2 separate regions of the Homo sapiens genome follow, and region 1 is linked to region 2. Evidence: promoter capture Hi-C in 16 types of primary human blood cells and fetal thymus (Javierre and others, 2016). All regions are on one chromosome and are shown on one strand. The core of a region is centred on a gene start or on the middle of the fragment in contact, and the rest is flanking DNA. Distances in the headings are between cores, read along the strand shown.

The links. Contacts are between HindIII fragments. The CHiCAGO score rates a contact against its expected background, and 5 or more counts as called.
Region 1: the fragment with the promoter of TRAPPC8 here is called in contact with the fragment with the promoter of TAF4B in region 2 in 1 of 17 cell types (naive CD8 T cells); the score reaches 5.1 in naive CD8 T cells.

What each region holds. Positions count from the first base shown.
Region 1 is chr18:31,940,649-31,946,487 of GRCh38, reverse strand. It overlaps TRAPPC8 (trafficking protein particle complex subunit 8), which reads left to right and starts at 3,360. Exons shown (of 29, transcript NM_014939.5): 1 at 3,360-3,880. The coding sequence starts at 3,724. RefSeq lists enhancers at 1-228, 3,376-3,585, 3,687-4,465 and a silencer at 3,636-3,755. The HindIII fragment of the contact is 12,839 bases long and covers 1-4,653 here.
Region 2 is chr18:26,224,051-26,230,090 of GRCh38, reverse strand. It overlaps TAF4B (TATA-box binding protein associated factor 4b), which reads right to left and starts at 3,646. Exons shown (of 15, transcript NM_005640.3): 1 at 2,815-3,646. The coding sequence starts at 3,157. RefSeq lists a silencer at 3,007-3,166 and enhancers at 3,817-3,916, 3,947-4,016. The HindIII fragment of the contact is 8,704 bases long and covers 1-6,040 here.

The DNA.
Region 1 (5,839 bases), core at 2,111-4,610, 5.7 Mb before region 2:
TGACCTCAGGTGATCCACATGCCTCGGCCTCCCAAAGTGCTGGGATTGCAGGTGTGAGCCACTGCACCCAGCCAACAGAGATTCTTAACAGATGCAATTACCTCTCTCCCCACAAAATAGCTTTGCAGGGGCATTTCAAAATACGGCAAAGAAATATATTTTGAGGTAAAATACTTTGATTTCCTTTATCTGTCATGTGATGTTATGCCAGAGTCAAGTTGGAAAGTAAGCCATATTATATAAGTTTACATAAAACCCATCTGATAACTTTTCTTTTTTTTGAGACGGAGTCTCGTTCTGTTGCCCAGGCTGGAGTGCAGTGGCACGATATTGGCTCACTGCAACCTCCACCTCCTGGGTTCATGTGATTCTCCTGCCTCAGCCTCCTGAGGAGCTGGGATTACAGGCACACACCACCACGCCCAGCTAATTTTTTGTGTATTTTTGGTAGACGGGGTTTCACTATGTTGGCCAGACTGGTCTCGAACTCCTGACCTCGTGATCCACCCACCTCAGCCTCCCAAAGTGCTGGGATTACAGGCGTGAGCCACCGCGCCCGGCCCATTTGATAACATTTTATGTTTTGTAGGGTGTGACTCCACAGGCCCCTTAGATAGGAATTCGGGGAGGAGGGGAAAAATGTCAGAGTTAAGTCCTCAGTATCATCTCCTTTAAGGTGTTTCCACAGTTCAAACAGTACCTTGTCAAAAGAAAGAAGAGACCAGGATAGACTACGAAAGAATTAGATTTACACAGTGAAGTTACTCACTGGAAACACTGTGTATGGGTGTGGTATTAGATTGTGAAGTCAGGCTGGGTGTGGTGGCTCACACCTGCAATCCCAGCATTTTGGGAGGCTGAGGCAGAAGGATCACCAGAGCCCAGAGTTTGAGGCCAGCCTGGGCAATACAGTGAGCCCTCATCTCTATATATTAAAAAAAAAACAACAACTGCAAAGTCAATGCATAAGACAAAAATCCATTTAGGCTCAGCCATAAAAAGGAATGAAGTAATGATTCATGTTACAACATGGATGAACCTTTAAAATATATTGATGAGTGAAGTAATATGTGTACAAAGGCCACATATTGTATAATTTCACTTATATGAAATGTCCAGAATAGGTAAATCTACACAGACAGAAAGTAGATTAGTGATTGCCAGGAGTTGGAGGGCATGGCAGGGTGCAGAATGATAAAAGCCTGTACAAGCCTTCTTTTTGGGATGAACATGTTCTGGAATTAGATAGTAGTAATGGTTGCACAACTTTTGGAATAAACTGAAAACCAATGAATTGTACACTCATCTGAAGGGGTAAATATTATGGCATGTGAATTATATCTCAGAAAAATCTATTTTGGCTAAATTACCATTGAAAGTCCTTTTCAAAGAGTCTAATTCAGCTGTTTTTACTTTCAGCATAAAAATAAATGGCCTTTGAAACTTTTTAGAGTACTAGATAAATAGTATGTTTGCATTTGGGAGTCCTGTTATAAAAAATGTATCTTATAACTTGAGTCACACTAAATTATGTGAGATTCTCACATTATAAAGGGTAAGGAAGTGAATCAGAAGCATTGAAAAGGGATTGTGTGTAACATGTTATCTCTTGCAAAAGGAAATTAAATTTTGGGACCCCAAACTGATTTAGCCAAAGGGAAAAGTCACGCTGGGACTGGTCACGCAAATCTGCCTCCCCCTTTTGGTTCCTAAATAAGATTGCTGCAAGATGAAAAGCTACATCTCTCCCCCGTATTTTGCCCACAAGGAAATTCTTAGTGTGCTGTTAAAACTTCATGGCAATGCAAATTGATAGCTTATCTTTACAGGTGGCCACCCCAGCCCGCCAGACACAAATGCCTATCTGATTGTTCCCCTACCCCATTTTGTCTGTTATCTTATGAAAAATGCAGACTCCCACATTCTTCCTCTGCCCATTTTATGTCATCTTATGTAAAAAATGCAGATTCACTGAGCCAGAGAAAGGCAAGAATTACTATTTTCTCCTACCGCCCCCTTACATGAAAACGGTGTGCTTCTCAATATCCCGCCCTTTCCCCTTTAAATTTGGAGCACTCAAAATCATCTTCGAAGAAAGGCATAGACCTGTTTCCTGGGCTCGTACTTAACTTCGGCAAATAAATCTCCTAAAGTGATGGACTCTCTTATAAATTAATCTGTAGCCAAGGCATGTCATCAATATGTCCTACTGTGCCTTCCTACCTCCCATTTATCAACTTACATGAGAAGCACACATCTTACTTGTCATAAATTATTACCTTAGTGAAAACCTGAGGGTGTCAAGAAGTCGAAAAATTTGAGACATTGACGTTGGGGAAGACACCTTTAATTAGAGCACCATAAAATCATGATAGAATGATACATTTTTCCTTGCCTTATATTTTTGGCATGCAAAACAGAAGGAGCTCAAACAATTGAGTGACACATTAGTAAAATTCCTTTCATTCATTTCTACTTACAAGGCACACACCATTGACCTCACCCCGTCCCCCCCTTTAAAACAATATTTGACCCGCGCCCCCCCCCCTTTAAAGCAATCTTTGAAAAGTTAGGAATGAAAGCCGGTTCAGGACAGTACACAGTACACAAATACTGGCTTCCCCTACCTCCACCACAAGCAAGTAAACATCCTAGCACAGTGTAAAAAGGAAGAGGCTGAGGACGAACCACGCGGACATTTGCAGGCACACCCCTTCCCTGCGACCAACAAAAATGCAGTAGCGCAATTACACTTGAAGGAATTGCAGCACTCACAAAAGCACACATTCTGTTCAATGGTTGAGTCCACATAAAGTGACAGTCCGTTTCTAAAAGCATGGCTGTATTTAAAGGACACATGGTCTGTTCAGGTCCGCTTCAGCGAAACCCCAAGCACTTCCGAGAGATCCACTCCCTCTCTCCGAGCAGGTGCCACTAGCTGCTCCGCCGGCGAGCGTAGGAAGCAGCGCGACCAACCAAATCGGTTGCCCACAACAGCCAGGGACGTCAAAAAGGCCAAACTGCGTGGGAAGCGAGCGTGCGCCTCCATCACCACGACAGCACCCGTCTCGAGGCTCCACCTGCCGCTAGTAGGTGGCTCTCAGCTCTGCTCTGCTAAGGGCGAGCTTGAGAACCCGGCCTACAGTTGTGCACCTCCCCCCGCCCCCGCCCCCGCCCCCGCCCCCGCCCACCGCACTTGTAGCCCCGCCCCGCCCAGGGAGCTTCCGTCACAACACTTCCGGCTCCAGCCTCCCAACCGGCCTCCGTCGTTTTTCACTTCCCTCTCCTCAGCTCTCTTCCCTTGCCCCTACCGTCTCCTTTAACACAGTCACGTGAGGGACGCGCGCGGGGGCAGCTGGGAGTAGTACTGCCGGTTGGTCAGGGTTCGGCCTCAACATGGCGGTTCCGGCCGGGCAGTGACCAAGGTTTTGCCGTCCGAAGGACTAAGTGGTGACTGTCGGCGTCTCCACCTATCGGGGTGGAATGCGAGCACGCGGGGACGAGCGCTGAGAAGCGGCGGTGACGGGAAGGGGGGGGTCAGTGGATTGTGCCCCAGAAACCGAAGCGGCGGCGTCTGTTCCTTCTTGTTTCTAGGCTCCAGTGCGTTCGGGGCCCCGCCCGGCCGGGCCAGGCCGGCGGGCGGCGGCGGTAGCTGCTGCAGCCGCAGGATAACCTCGCAGGGTGGGCCGGAGGGCGGGCGCCGCCGCTGCCTGTGCTGCGGCGATGGCCCAGTGTGTACAATCAGTGCAGGAGCTAATCCCGGACTCCTTCGTCCCCTGTGTCGCTGCGCTGTGCAGCGACGAAGCCGAGCGGCTCACTCGTCTCAATCACCTCAGCTTCGCGGAGCTGCTTAAGCCCTTCTCCCGCCTCACTTCCGAGGGTATGTGGTATCCTCCCTTTTCCAGTGGGCTCCCGCAAAGCCGTGGTCGGGAGAAGGAAGTTGCGGGCGGGCAGGGAAGAGAAGGGCAGTGTTTACGTCCTGGAGCCGGTACCGTGGCGTCTGGGGCTGTGGCCCCGCGGTGCTCCGGGGGCGGCTGGAGGAGGGACCGTGAGGTTGTCAAGACAGCGCAGTCCTAAGCTCCAGTTTCTCTGGGCACTTCCTTTCTTCCTCGGACAACCTAGGTCGTTAAGTAATTGGTGCAAAGATAAACGTGAGTCTTCGAGAACGGCATTGAGACTGTTCTCCACGGCCATAGCGAAGGAATTAGGCACTTGCAAAGCAGCTAAGGTAGGAAAATGCTGCCTCTTAGACCGACAGGGTCTGAGTAAGGAAGACCTGTCATCCTCCCTTGGATGTTAAACTGGACTTTGAAAGTAGTTGTGGATGTTATTACATTCTTGTAGCGTTGAGGGTCATCTCTGTCTGAACTACCGTGTAGCTGTTTTACTAATATATTCTTAGCTATACGGTATTTTGCTTAACCTCTCAAGAAAATTAAAAGTATTATAAGAAGAATAAAACTTGAAGCAGCTTTTTGCCCTAAGGAAGAGGAAGCAAGCCCAAGTTGTGGTTAATTTAACCTGGATATTTGGAGTTATCTATAGTTATAGGGATGGAAATGTCTTCTCTTGTTAATGAATGTCTTGTTAAGAAGCTACCCGTTTTCTCCAGTTTTGGATTTTTTTATTAGGAGAAAATAATGTGGTAAAGCTTCAAGCATGTTTTAGCCAATATCTTGCAAACAACAAAGTCCAAGTAAAGTTTTTTTTGTTAAGGTCGGTAAGAACTGAAGGGTTTCATAATAAGCCTGTGTCAGGCAAACGACTGTGATGTTTGTTAGCTTAATATGACTTATCCACAAAAAAAATCAGTGCTGTACCATTTTTGCGCTACCATGTTTTTTGGGAGAATAGTTCCATTATAAATTAGCTTTTGTTTTTAGCGGAGAGAGGGAGCTGTCCAAAAAAACAAAGTTTGGAAACTTTTGGATTTTCTTTAGCCTGTATCGTAGCCATCAGTCTCAGTTCCTTCAGTGTTGGACTTAAGAGCAACAAAATGCCCTACGTTTTTTATTTTTTTGTTATTTATTTATTTATTTATTTTGAGATGGAGTTTCGCTCTTGTTGCCCAGACTGGAGTGCAGTGGCGCGATCTCAGCCCACCGCCACCTCCGCCTCCCAGGTTCAAGCGATTCTCCTGCCTCAGCCTTCTGAGTAACTGAGATTACAGGCATGCGCCACCATACTCGGATAATTTTTGTATTTTTAGTAGAGACAGGGTTTCTCCATGTTGGTCAGGTTGGTCTCGAACTCCCGACCTCAGGTGATCTGCCCGCCTCGGCCTCGCAAAGTGCGGGGATTATGGGCGTGAGCCACCGCGCCCGGCCTTGAATTCCTAAAAAAACACAAACACTTGAGCTAGTTTTACTTTTATATGTGTACTCTTTCCTTCTTTCTTAATAAATAATAATAATGCTAATACCTGATACTTGCTTTGTGTAACTTTTCTTTTTTAGTCCTCATTGAATCCTGTTATTGCAATTTTAAATTTGAGGACCTTGAAGCATAGAAGTGTTAATTTGTTCACAGTTTTGCGTCTGGGAAAGATTTGAAACAGGCAGTGTGACTCAAGACATTGTGTTCTTAATCATCTTATCTCCTGACAGTATTTAGAATTATGTATTTACACCATAGAGCAGTGCTGTCTAATTGAAATATAATGTGAGTCACAGGTATAATTAAAAAATTTTCGGCCGGGCGCGGTGGCTCACGCTTGTAATCCCAGCTCTTTGGGAGGCCGAGGCGGGTGGATCACGAGGTCAGGAGTTCGAGACCATCCTGGCCAACATGGTGAAACCCCGTTTCTACTAAAAATACAAAAATTAGCTGGGCGTGGTGG
Region 2 (6,040 bases), core at 2,397-4,896:
CCTTTTATTAATATTTCCTCAAATATTCTCTTGTGCATTCTTTTTATTTCAAGCTCCTGCTCCCTAGAAAAACCTGTGGTGCATATATATGTATATGTGTGTGTGTGTGTGTATATATATATATATTTTTTTTTTAAACCAGTTCTGTTCATAGATGAAACTCTGAAGTAAAGAGAATCAAATACTTAAAGTATTCATTATCTTGAAAAATGAAGAACTGACATATATAAGCACCCTTGTGTAATCAAGTGCTAATTCTTGGTATGCAAAGGAAATAGTACAAGATTCAGGCCAGCGCAGTGGCTAACGCCTGTAATCCCAGCACTCTGAGAGACCGAAGCAGGCTGATCACTTGAGGTCAGGAGTTCGAGACCAGCCTGGCCAACATGGTGAAACCCCATCTCTACTAAAAATACAAAATTTAGCCGAGCATGGTGGCGTGTGCCTGTAATCCCAGCTACTCGGGAGGCTGAGACGGGAGAATTGCTTGAACCCGGGAGGCGGAGGTTGCAGTGAGCCGAGATTATGCCACTGCACCCCAGCCTGGGCAACAGAGTGACACTCCGTCTCAGAGAAAGAAAAAAAAAAAAAAAAAAGAAAGAAAGAAAGATATAAAAGAAATAGTATAAGATTCATAACCTTTTTAAAAAGTTACTTTAATCAGTGTTTCCATTTTATTCTTCAACTATTGGTTATCTTATTCTATCCAATAAGAGCACAAATGTAGTTAGTACACCCTTCTGCCACACGTCAGCAGAAAATTCCCAAAAGCAAATCCCCACTTCCTCTATAACGACCAATTCCTAAAGACAACTTATCTTCTTTCTCTCTTTTGTATGGGTTTCTCAGAGGTAAATAGCATGCAATGTTTTAATACAGTGCTAGGAACATAATTAGACTATGGTCCTAGTATGCTATTATTTTAACTCTGCCAAGTTTCAGTTTTGGTTCCTTGGTATATAAAATAAAAGACTGGAATCTAAAGTTCTCTGAATCACCTTTCAGTACTGACACTCAATGAGGCATACCGTACACATACAAGTAAAAAAATAAGCATAGCGTTGTGGAAAGAATAAACAGACCTGAGCTAAAACTCCCCCGACACCTATGGGTTGCCTGGCATTGGACAAATTATTTACTCTTAGAGACCTCTTTCCTTATTTGCTACCTACCTATTATGACCAACAAATAAAAGAATATAAATAATTTGTTAAAAGTGCTTAGCATGATAAGGCCCCAATCCTCCAGTAAGTGATTCACTCTCACTTACCAGCAAATTTTCACTCTTGACAGTTCTTTCTTTGGGGGGTTGGGGAGGGATGGGGAGGAACAGAGTCTCACTCTGTTGCCTGGGCTGGAGTGCAGTGGCAAGATATCTTGGCTTACTGCAACCTCCACCTCCCGGGTTCAAGCGATTCTCGTGCCTTAGCCTCTCAGACAGTTCTTTCTTAATACTTTTTTTTTTTGACTATTTATAAACAAACTTCAGTGACTAGACAGGATTTACAGTTTAACAAATTAGGGGGTAATTTCATTCTAACACATTCAGAACTACTTTATAAACATATATGCAGAATAACAACTCAGAATAACAATTTAGAACTGCCAAATAATGTATTCGGTGCTGCACACTGCCGTAACAGTGCCTTAACAATTTTACATACCTTGTATACCATATAAAACTGAAACAGAACTTCATAAAAAGTGAAATCTATCCACAACGTGTATGACTAACTACAACATTAGATACAAAAAGGGTCCCTGTCATTTTATTAGGGGATATAGAATCTTTTGAATCAATGCTTCCCCTTTTTTACCATCTTTGCAGTTCAGAGTTCCAATTACTGCTAAACAAAATTAACAGAAAGCAAACTCCAAGAGACTTTCAGTAAAGAAAGGCTGAACACCCCAAAATCATTCAGCATATTTACAATATGTAAATTATCACAAAGCAAAACCTTTATACAAACCATGAAATACAGCCCAATAGAGTAAAAAGCCCTAGGATAGAAAGTAGTGAAAGACTCATTAACAGTAGCGTTGACACATGGCTTCAATTGCAACTGTAACAATTGCATGACTGATCTGTTTGTCAACTGTGGCACGTGTTCCCAGTCAGGGGTTCTGCTAATTGAAAGTTAGAATCATAAGACATTTAAAGATTGTGCAGGAACAGCATTATTCGTACTTGGTACTAGAAAGCAGTAAACCGATTCTGACTTGGTTAAATTTAAAAATCTCTTTCAGTTGTAATACACAAGAACTTCACTGTTAGGCCGTACGCGGTGGCTCACGCCTGTAATCCCAGCACTTTGGGAGGCCGAGGCGGGAGGATCGATTGGGCCCAGGAGTTCGACGTCGGTGAGCCATGATCGTGTCACTGCACTCCAGACTGGGCGACAGAGCGAAACCATACCTCATTCGTTCATTCATTCATTCATAATTAATAAAATAAGTACAACGCACTTCTACATAATCTAAGCGTATGGAAATCCACGGTATAAACCGGTCCATCCTCCACATGGAAATTAACTTCGGCTATATTATCTCCTCCACCTAAGAGCCAGTGCCTGAAAGCCCCCCCGAATACGCTGATGTAGCTTTTTACTGTATCACTTAGGTGAAAAGATTCTTTCCTTAAATATGAAAAGAAAAACTATGTAGTAATGACACAAAAAGAATATGTTAACTGTAAAGTCAAGATTATGAAATGTTCCCGTGGCTCAGTTTTTTTAGGAGCAATCTGGAGCTGCGAATTTTCCCGTCGCCGCCAGCTGGACCGACAGACAAGGCTGGAAAGGGTTATCAACATACCTGGAGGAAGCTGCAAATTAGCAGGAAACTGGATTGTCGTGGTGTTGGGGGCTTTCACGGCGACTATCTGAGGAGCAGGCAGCCTAGGGCCGCTGCTGACTTTAGGAGGGGCGCTGACCGGAGCCACTTTGGTCACCAGGGTCCCCACGGGGGACCGCAGGGGCTGGGACGCCGTGGGCTCCACGCAGACGCTGACAGGAGCCTTAGTCACGGCGCCCAGGGCCACCGGAGTGCTCTCCACCCGCACCGGCAGCGCCCCGGCCGGGGCCATGGTCACGGTCCCCGAGGCGCTCACAGCAGCCGGGGGAGCGGCGCCGGCGGGTTCGGTGAGGCCGGCGGGCATCCCCCAGGGGCTCAGCGGCAGCTTTGGCGCTGCGGTTCCGGGAGCAGAGGTGAGGGGAGGCTTGGCGCGCGGCAGCCGACTCCGGTGCGGTTCGGGTTCCACAGCATCGCTGGGGAGAGGCGCGGGGGCCGCAGCAGCGAAGTCAGTGACGGGCGCCCGCTGCACGGCAGGACACGCGCGTCCCGGACCTTCCTCTCGTCCGCGCGAGCCTGGGCTGCCCCCGGAGCGACACCCGCCCGACCTCTCGCAGCTTCCTCAGCGGCGCTCACACGTGCGCTGCCTCAGCCCTGCGCCTCAGGCTCGGGTCCCGCTGCGGGGGAGCCTGGACTTGCGGCTCCCGGAAGGTCGTCGCTCACACCTCGAGCCTAACTGCGCAGCTGCTCCCCCGCCAGAAATTTCAAAACTACGAACCCCGAGTGCCCACAGCCCCCTACGCGCGATTGGCACGGCCCCGCCGCGCGGCCACGCCAGCCATGTTTATATAGCCACGCGGAGACCTCGCGCACGCGCCCAGGCCGCCGCCACCGCCCCGGGTTTCCCCGGGATCCGGCCGCGTGATTGGCCAAGGAGCGGAGCCGCGCCCGTGACGTCACTGGGGACGGCTCCAGGGAGCGTTAAAATCTTCCCCAGAATCGCCAGCAAGGAGGGGCGATGCCAGAAACCTATCACGTGGGAGGGGCAAGCTGCACTTGGAAAACTGCGGCATCCGTGTTCCTCTCCTTGTGTCCCCTGTAGTGTGTTCCTCGAAAAGCCAGCACTAGACTATCTCCAGGATTCTATTTTTTAAGGAGAAAATGGGGAGGACTGATTTCCGAGAAGAGTGACTCAATAAGAATTCAATCACGCATTTTCAGTGTTTTTCTCTGCTGTCTTCACACTGAAGCGTTGCTAAAATTCGCAGTTAGAATTGACATTGTAAAAATTAAAATGGCGTATAGTTTTATAGTCTGTGAGATGTGCCTATTTTCATATTTTAGAGTTAAACTGCCTAAAATCTTAAATGGAAAATCGTTTCTTCTTTGGTGCTGCTATAGGTGTCTCTATCACCTCTAAACATTAAAATTGTATGTCTGTCTTCTGAAAAACTTAATGCCTTTTGATATCTATATAATTAGATTCTAGCACTTAGATATTAAGCGTGATCCTAGATATTATCTGGATAAATAAAAGGTGTTGAGTGAATCGATATGAAAAAACTTGCCTGTTTGTAATGCAGTCAGAGAAGATGCCTTAATTTCAAGCTAAAGTCATTATATTGTATGTTTGTAGGAACCAACACTGCACTGAAAGGCGATTTTACAAGTAGGCAGATGCTATGATCTGAATGTTGTGGTGTTTTGTTTTGTTTTGTTTTGTTTTGTTTTGTTTTGGAAACAGGATCTAACTCTGTCACCCAGGCTGGAGTGCAGTGGCACCATTGGCTCATTGCAGCCTCCACCTCCTGGGCTCAAGTGATCATCCTACCCTCCTACCTCAGATTCCCGAGTAGCTGGAACCACAGGGGAGCGGCACTATGCCTAGCAAAAACGGGATCTCGTTATATTGTCCAGGCTGGTCTCCAATTCCTGAGCTCCCGCCTGGGCCTCCCAAAGTGCTAGGATTATACCCCCAACTGAGTGTTAAAATGCTAAAGCTGGAGTTGATAATATTAGAAGGTTGGGCCTTTGAAAGGTGATTAGATCATAAGGGTGGAGCCCTCATGAATGGGATTCCATTCAGGACAAATCATGTTAAAGTGATGAATATGTTAACTTGATTTAATTATTTCACGACACATACAAATGTAACATGATACCTCATAAATACATACAATTATTATTTGTTAGTTAAATACATTAAATAAATAATTTTTTTAAAAAAAGAAACCTCAGAAAGATCCCTCACCCCTTCCAGCAAGTGAGGTTATGGTAAAAAGACTGCTGTCTAGAAAGTAGACTCTCATCAGATACCACATCTGCCTTGATCTTGAACTTCCCAACCTCTGGAATTATGGGACATGAATTTCTCTTTTTATAAGCTACCCAGTTTATGATATTTCATTATAGAAGCCCGAGTGGACTAAAATAGCAGGCAACCTGATGGTTACAGCTCCTGCTTTTCCCCCTCTCTGTAAACGTGTGCCGGCACGTTTAGATAAGATCTACTCACAAGATCTAGTAAAGTCCACACACTTACTACCTTTACTGTCTCTCACTTCTTGACCAGTCTAAATCCATCTCATGACCTAAACCAATCACCCTCCCTTTCTATGGTGAATTCCCTGATCACTTACCTTCTAGCAAATGCCTCAAAGTGGAGTTGGGGAGAGAAAAACTCAATTTATTGAGCACCTCCTGTGTGCTGGTCACCAAGAGATGCATTTCCTTTTTCTAACTGCTTCATTTTACAAACTTAAAAACTGCAGTTAAAAGAGTAATGTTTCCAAGAAGCTGGAATTCAAACTCATCAGTATGATGCCAAAGTACATCTCTTTCCATTACTCCAAAACGTCTGATTAATCATGTATCCCACAGTGCCCTTGGCAAAATGCCTTGAGCATAAAAGGCATTTAATAAATACTTGCTAAGGTAATGAATTGAATGAAGCTATGCAACATTTTCAGTGAAGCAAAATGGTGTAGTGTATTTGAATCTTAGATATGTTCTTCACTAACTGGCCAAATTATCCCCGATTTTTTTCCCTCCATATAGTATGTTTCAATAGATACTTGGGTACGGAAGCATCAAAGTTTGTTTATAGAACTCTCCCTTTCTAAATTTCCACTAGACCCCCACCATCAATTCACACACTTTGTTTAGATAGGCAATTAACCTCCACCATCAAATTACAAAGAGACTTGGTTGGGGAACTATATTTTTTCATAAAGTTAACCTCATGCATTTC